Linked DNA regions of Homo sapiens: region 1 is linked to region 2. The links are contacts of gene promoters, found by promoter capture Hi-C in human tissues and cell types (Jung and others, 2019). All regions are on one chromosome and are shown on one strand. Each heading gives the region's core, a stretch centred on a gene start or on the middle of the fragment in contact. The rest is flanking DNA. Distances are from core to core; before and after follow the strand shown.

What was found. The method cuts DNA at HindIII sites, captures the fragments that hold promoters and counts their contacts. A contact is called where the count stands out against the background at its distance.
Region 1: a fragment that was not itself captured here is called in contact with the fragment with the promoter of ATP8B1 in region 2 in 2 of the 25 tissues and cell types used here (IMR-90 fibroblasts and heart right ventricle).

Annotation. Positions count from the first base shown.
Region 1 is chr18:57,905,980-57,909,838 of GRCh38, reverse strand. No RefSeq gene overlaps it. Among named protein-coding and RNA genes, the nearest start is that of LINC01897, 54 kb to the left of the region's middle. The HindIII fragment of the contact is 3,682 bases long and covers 1-3,161 here.
Region 2 is chr18:57,801,324-57,805,426 of GRCh38, reverse strand. It overlaps ATP8B1 (ATPase phospholipid transporting 8B1), which reads left to right and starts at 2,112. Exons shown (of 28, transcript NM_001374385.1): 1 at 2,112-2,429. RefSeq lists an enhancer at 1,855-2,492. The HindIII fragment of the contact is 14,543 bases long and covers 1-4,103 here.

The DNA of each region.
Region 1 (3,859 bases), core at 71-2,570, 110 kb before region 2:
TTACACAGTGTAGAGAGAACAGAACTTCGCCTCCGCTGGGTGACTCAGGCACCCGAACACCAATTAACTGCACTGTTCTGCTAATACAATGACGCCTCCAGGGAAACTGGGCTGGGCAGGTCAGTTTACCCTGGTATTAAAGGGCCCCAGACAACTCTTCGCTGAGTTCTGTCTCCTGCTTTATAGGTGTCTTAGTCTGTGTTGTTATAATAGAATACCAAAGACTCGGTAATTTATAAAGAACAAAGATTTATCTCTTACATTCTGGAGGCTGGGAAGTCCCAGGTCAAGGTGGCTACAATCTAGTGAGGGCCTTACTGGTCATCCCATGGTGGAAGGTGGAAGGACAATAGAGTACATGTGAGAAAGAGAAAGGGGAAGGATGCCAAATTCATCCTTTTTTATCAGGAACCCACTCTTGCGATAACTAACCCTCTCCCACCCTAACGACATTAATCCATTTATAAGGGCAGAGCCTCATGACCTAATCACCTCTTAAAGGTGATTAACACCACCCACCTCTCAAAACTAGCATTGGGGATTCAGTTGCCAACACATGAATTTAGGGGGACACATTCAACCATAGAAGTAGGATTTGCATTTCTTACTTGTCTTTCAGGCTGTCACATTTGTCCTTCCTGCTATTGTTGGTGACTCTGCTCCACAGAGAACCATCTTCTCTTCTCATCCCTGTTGTGAGCTGAGAATCTTGACATCCAAACTTCATAGAACTGCTTCTGCGTGAACAGCATACGCATTTTGAGTGAGGACCTCAGGGTCTTCCATCTGAGTAAATAACATCAAATTTAGTTTCTTAATTGTTTCTTCTTTTTTCAATTCTGTTGCTGATATTCATTCATCCGTCTATTCATTCAACTTATGTGTTAGGTCCTAGAGCCATGGTTCTTAACCTTGGCTACACATTGGAGTCAGCTGGGGAGCCTTAAAGACTTCCCAACACCAGGCTTCCATCGCTGGAAGATTCTGATATAAATGGTCCTGGGTATGTCTTGGGTATTGGGAGTTTCAGAAGCTTCCCAGGTGATTCTAATGTGCAGCCAGGGTTGAGAACTCCAGGTCCAAAGGCTAAGGGACTTCTTCATGGTTTGTTAATAGCATGTGGGAACCCATCAGCTCCCTTCTCTATAACATCTGACAGCTATTTCCACTGTTAGGAGTCTTTGGAGCTTTGTCTTATCTATATTTTTTGCTCCTTGGAATATTTGAGTCTTTAGGGATGCTTTTCCGGACCTTTCTTTCTCGAATAATGTATAGAATATGTGATTAGAAAGATTAAACTCTTGGGCCAGAGTCTGACATGGTTGCAGATAATAAGCTTTTATTGGTCATTGACTTGGGATCAAATCTTGGTATTTAAGAAATCTGAGCTTCTTCCTATAACAGAATTTTATCTTGAGCTATAGAAGGCACACTCTGTCTCCAAACATCACGGCTTCCTTCCTCATCTTCCAGACTTGAAACTCAGGATTCTTTTTCAGCATAGAGGTCTGATCCAAAAGGCCAAAGAGTTGTTCCAGCTTTCCTAATCACTTCCTGTGTGACCTTGAGTAAGTTGCTTAATCACTCTGGGCTCTAGATGCCTCATTTTAAAGTTTTCAGTAATGCATGTCATAAACTTAATTTTATTATCAAGGGGTTGTTGTGATCATCAAGGATTATAAATGCATGCTTTTTTTTGTAAAGAAAGAAATTCAGCAGTATTATTACAAAGTAAAATACCTACTGTGAATTGGTGTTAACCATTCACTTCTTCCTTTCTTTTCCACAAGTTTAACTCTAGTTTAGGGTTTTAAAACTTTATACAGAGATTATTGAAAGTAATTTCTGAGACTCATATAAAGCACAAATAATATACTATTTTAATCTGGGGTGGGGTTTATTTTGTATTAAATCTATTTAGGGTTAGAATCGGGAATGTGTGAAAAGAAACAAAGTTGAGTGATGCAAAGTCCAGCCTTCCGAATGGAAGACAGAGTTTCGGGAGTTGCTTGGGAGCTGGACAGCCCTTCCCTCTTCTGCCTGCTACATACAAGCAAAAATATACCCAGCAAGTGGGCAGGGCACTTCCCAAGGCTAATTTACCGGAGCTGTTTTGTAATGCAATTCAGGTTACTGACTCTCTATTAGCAACATGTTGTCCCACTGTTGTGCCTGCAGGAAGGACATCTCTTGCAGGCCAGGGGAAGTTAATGGCAGAGATTAACCCTCATGGTGCCAGAGGACCAGTTTATTTTCAGATGTCCAAGGCTGACAAAGGAAAATCAGAAAGAGAAAAGAAAAGTGAGCTGTCACTTTGAGTCAAGACCATCCTAATTTCTTTTCTCCATGCCTCCATCCTCAGGGCTCAGGGCTCTCCCCTCCACCTCCACAGCAGAGTGGGCAGGAGAGAGCCTGGCTGTGACTTTTGTGCACCTGGATGGGGCCCATAGATTTTTCATGACACAAATGGAGACTGAGGTGGGGGAGAGTCGGACAGACCAGGGAGAGGGGATGCTGAGGCCTGAAGGAGAAGAGACTAAGGAGCTACACAGTGTGGGGAGAGGGAGAAGGAGGCAATGGGAGGAAAGAGATGTCCCCAAGAGGGAATACTGTGCAGCTACAAAGTACGCTGCTCTGATCTCCCTTCAAGGCAACCTGCCGCATAGAGAGAAACTGGTGCACTGCGTTCTGCATATTCTGATCTGTTTCAGCCCTCACAGGGAGCCCCCAGCACCCCCACTGCACTCCTCAAGCTGCTCCCAGTCCATCACTGAGCAGAGTGAATGCTCCTTTGCCTTGAAGATCTCCATCTGCTGGGCTTCCCTGAGATTGCTCCTCCCCAGGCCTCCTTCCTCCCCTCACTCCTCCCACAGGTATCAGGTCTGAGCTGTACTCTGAAGGCGTTCTCTTTACCTTTCACAGATGTGTCCCCCAGTCAATCAATCTCTTGCGTGTCTAATTCCATCTTAGTGTCTGCTTCTTAAGAAGTAGACTGACCCAAACTGACACTGCCCCTCGGGGATGTCCATGGGAACCTCTACACAGGGATGTCCTAGTTTATGTACAAGGAGTCCTTTCCCTTCTGCCCATTTATAATCTCTCCTGTCCCACCGTGCAAAATGAAGAGATCCCTTTCACCTCTCCAGCGTCTGAGTATGAACATTGCCCCAGGGGTGTTAAAAACATCCCAGGTGCCAAACAATAACAATGTGAAACATTGGCATTAGCCTTCTTTAATCAAGATACTACGAGCCCATGATTGGTTCCATCTTAAGTACATTGTGGCTAATGGACAAACCACGGTGTTTTGTCCATGTCGTCATGCTCTTGTTTCACATCTGTTAAAGACCAGGGTGGCAGAAGTGGTGACAAGTTTCATTCAAACATTTCCTGGAGTGGCCATGAGAAGGCTCCTCACAGAATTCCAGCTCCAGGGGGCTAAATTGACTCAGGGGCCCCAGTTCCTGCCTTCTGAAATCCACTGGCACAAATGTGCATGATTCCATCACCGTGAGCTGCTCTCAGCCAACCACTGAATGCGACTGGGAAACTGAGGCAGATCTGCTCCTGGGAGACTCGGGACTCCTCCGATGGCCAGACTTGACTCGCGAATTCCCTGGTGGCCTTGCTGAAACTTCCTGAGGGTGCACAGCAGCCTGGGATGCTTCCACCCTCTCTCCTTCATGCAGCCTCGCACTCACACTGCCATCTGACCGGTCCCGGCCTTCCTCAGCACCACCACCCCACCTTTGCTTTCTCTCATCCTTGATTCCTCTAACAAAATCTTTGCATGCCAAGTCTCTGCATGTGTAAGCTCATCGTGGGTCTGTTTCTTGGAGAACCCACCCAAACACGGGTC
Region 2 (4,103 bases), core at 863-3,362:
CCAGGCTGAAGCGCAGTGGCACAGTCTCGGCTCACTGCCTGCCACCTCAGTCTCCCAGGTTCAATTGATTCTCCTGCTTCAGCCTCTTGAGTAGCTGGGACCACAGGCGCCCGCCACCATGCTTGGCTAATTTTTGTATTTTTAGTACAGGTGGTGGCTCATGACTGTAATCCCAGCACCTTGGGGGGCTGAGGCAGGTGGACCGCTTGAACTGGGGAGTTCAAGACAAGCCTGGGCAACATAGTGAAACCCAACCCTGTCTCTATAAATAAATAAACAAGTAAATAAATGCAGACATCAGAATGGTATTGATCAGATCTAGGTACAGGTGTAGATTGGATGCGTCCTTGTTTAGTCTCTTCTATGTAACATTTTCTTGGACAGGTTGAGCACTTGGTAGTGGATCTGCAAGGAGGGGGTGCCCCCTTTAGTCTGGAATCCCCTCTTGATTCCTAGGTTTGCTGGCATTTATCCAGATAGGGGCAGAGTCTTCCTAAACGGCTTCCCTCCTTTGGAGTCTGCTGCTCCTTGCATGCCATAACCCAGTCTTGAGAACCTGGCTCACCTTCCATTGCTCCCCTCTCCCAGTCAGTTGCAGGTTGTGGCCACTTCGTGCCCTATCTCTCTTCTGTGGTGTCCCTTGAATTTCCTCCTTTTTACTTCCCCTGGCAACTCCTCCGTATGTCGCTGTCCCAGCCTCTCAAGTGATTCTCCCATCTTCAGTTTTATCCTCTCTAGACTATCTCCCTATTATTTTCCCTAAAACACAACCTTGATCATGCTCATGCTCGGTCCTAAATTGTCAACGGTTTGCAGGTGCTACCAAAAACAAGTCTAAATGTCTTAGATCAACCAGTGTCACCAACAGGCCCTATGTTCTCTTGCATCGGTACCTTTGTTCTGTCGTTAGCTTCAGAATATAAGTGCTGGAAGAGACCATCTGGTCCAATCTCATTTTACAAATGAGGAAACTGAGGCCTGGATAGATTGAGTGACTGACCAGCACCTAGTCAGAGATCAAGTTTGACTCATGAAAAAGAAGCCTAGAGCAGCCTCGGGGTTGGTATCAGACAAGATTCTACCAGTTGGCCACCCGTTGAATACCCTCTCTACACAACTCTGATCCTTAAAGCTGTGGATCTTTGAGTCCCATCAAGCACGGCCTCCTGTAGGAAGCCTCTGTGATGACCCAGTTGGGAGTCTGGACTCTTGGGCATAGATGTGAGCCTCTAGGTGACTGGGAATCGTGTGGGAGTCCTGGCTCCCCTACTGCATTTTAAGCAAACTCTGATCTTTGATTTTCCTCCATTCTTATCCCAACGACTCGGTCCATAGTCGGGGAGCGGCAAAAGTCTACTCAAGAAGGAGGGTAATGTCTATACTGCCAGGGAGGCACGATTCACCCGCTCAGACACCAGCCAGCAACGAGGCGCTGAGTCCAAAATTTCCACCTACACCGCGTGGTTCACGGGCCGCACCTTAACTCCTTTTGACTCCAAACCCAAAAAAACTCGATAGCGTTTGGACTCGGCAGAAAGCCTGCTGGCTGCAATCACAGGATACGTTTCTGGAAGTCTTGAGGCGCAGCCTCTTTCTTCACCCTCCACGCGGCGAACTTTGACGCGCATTCGGTGACCGGTCCCCAAACATGACTTGGCATCAAGAGGACACAGCTCCCCTTACCGAGGGAGCTCAGGTCCCGGGCGCGCCGCGGCCCCGCCAGCTTTCCAGGCTGGCTCAGTCCTCGACCCGGGGTGACGGCCAAGCCAGCCAAGGGCAGCGGGAAAGTGACGCTGGGCTGGAGAGGTGTGGTGGCGAGTGCGGCCCCCGGGGAGCTAAGAGCAGCCGCAGCAACTGGGTCTCAGGCTGGGCGAGGCAAGGGCTCGTAGGCTGGGCTCGGAAGACTGAAAGGGGTGCCCACCTGACTCCAGGACGCACGGAGGGCGTGGGGCAGGAGCTGGACCTGGGCCGCCTCGGGCCGCCCCGGGGCTTGCAGTCCAGCCCCTCTCCGCCCTAGGGAGGGAAAAAGGGAGGGGAGAAGGCCGAGCCCGCCTCCAGCCCCAGCCCCAGCCCCAGCGAGGCTCGGCGGCCGCGGCTGCTGGAGGGAAACCAGAGGCACCTCCCCGAGCGGAGAAACCAGTTTGGCCGGTCCGGCGGAGCGGAGGCAAAAGGGCGGCTGCAGAGGAAGGGTGCACGGACGCGGGGCGGGGAAAGGCGGGGGAGCCACTAGCGAGCCGCGAGAGCCGGAGGTGCCGCCGCCAACTAGACACGCTTCCCCGGGCCCCCGGCCAGCCCCCGTGCGCCATGCAGCGCTAGCGCGGCGGCCAGGGCTGGGGCCGGGCGGGCGGCGGCAGCGGCCAGGTGCGCAGCGAGCGCTCCGAGCGGCGCGCACCAGGCGGATGCCCCAGCCGGGGCCCAGCGAACGCCAGGTAAGCAGGGGTGCGGCGCCGGGGGCCCCCAGACCTTCCCAAGCCCCTTGGCCCGGCGGTGTCCTGCAGGTTCCCTGGCCGCTCCCGCCGCACTTTGGAGATCCGGGATGCGGCGGCAGCAGCTGTCAGCGCCCTCGGACTCCCGAGCCCGCACAGGTGGGATTTGGGTGGAGGTGCTGGGAGCCCCCGAGGCCTCGGGGACGGCGAGACACGGCCGGCTGGGCAGGCAGCGCTGCGGAGAGTTCCGTGGGGTTTTCACCTGCCTAGAGGAGGGAAATCTCGGGGTGTTTGGGTTCTTCGATCGGTAGCGACACACATGTCCGGGGGTTAAGCCAGGTAGGGCTTGCGGCTCCTTGGGGGATGCCGCTGGCTCCTGTGCGGTGGCTACCGCCCCTCTGGAAGACCCCGGTGACCGGGTCCTGCTGGGGCGCTCTTTGGGAGCAGATGCCAACGTGTCCGAAAAGGACTTGCGGGCCAAACGTATCTGACCGCGGCCCACCTGCCGGGAGGGATGGAGGGGGTGAGATCGCTCTCCTCCCCAGCTCCTGTGGCAGGGCCAGGTACTCCCAGACATCTTCCGTGCGCTTTATTGTGGGATGGGGAGGGGAGGTGATGGGGAAGACCGACACCACTGTTTTTCCGGTGACTGTCGGGTCGCGTCCGCCAGCCCCGCTGAGATGGCTGCAGGCATCTCCTTCCCTCAGCAGTTTGGTGCCCTGCGCTGTCACCTCGCTGTGTGCACGAGGAGGGGCAACTTGTTGGGGGGCGCGGGGAGATGTTGCAGAGAATGGCCCAGTGCTTTAACACCCCTCGCCCCCACTTCTCCAACTCCCTCCTTCTCCCCAAAGTGAAAGAAAAGTTCTGAAGTGTCTGCCCAACTTTTCCGACGGAGGCGTGTGCCTGTGGTCCCTGCCGGGGGTTGGTGGCTGGTTGCGGGGGGGGGCGGTGCTCGGAGCGCAGATCCGTGACGGTTGTACGGGGGAGACTGGATTGCAGTAAGGATGCAAATTGGGGAAGGGGGATTGACACGCAGAAGTAAGGAGGACTTGGGCCGCGCTTCTGCCCGGTGAGTACCCGCTCAACCCTACCCGACCCCCTTGGCCTGCACGCGCTGCCCTTGGGGGCTGCAAGCTCTTCCTGGGTAGCTCCAGACGCCGCCGAGTTCCTCTCCCGGAAACTGGCCTCCCTGTTGGCGTGAGAAAATATTCGCTCCCATCTTCCTGGTTGCATTGCCTTCAAAATTTTGCCACTACCCATGGGAAACTAAAAAAAGAAAAAACTAGTGGGATGTTTGGAGATCACCCGGCACACGGTAGGTTATCGATGAAGGTTAACTGCTTTCAGGAACAAAAGCTAAAAAAAACCACGCGTGATAAAGCCTCCAGGGATAGTGAATACGAGCCCGTATATATGGGGGACACGACAGCAAATGTGAAGTAGAAGCGCTAATTTTCGTCCGCTAAGGAATACTTTTGTGTTAGACCTAAGATGCCGTTCATTAATTCTGGGCCTGTTGTTGAAGGCTTTATTAAACCCTATTATAAATGCGCAGACTGTGCACAAGATGATTAATGCTTATTAGCTGATTACTTTCTGGGGGAGAAGTCACGCCTGCCTGCAGTTAACTCCTCTGAATTCTCTTAATGATTTTCATTAGGTGGTGGAGTTTTCCTT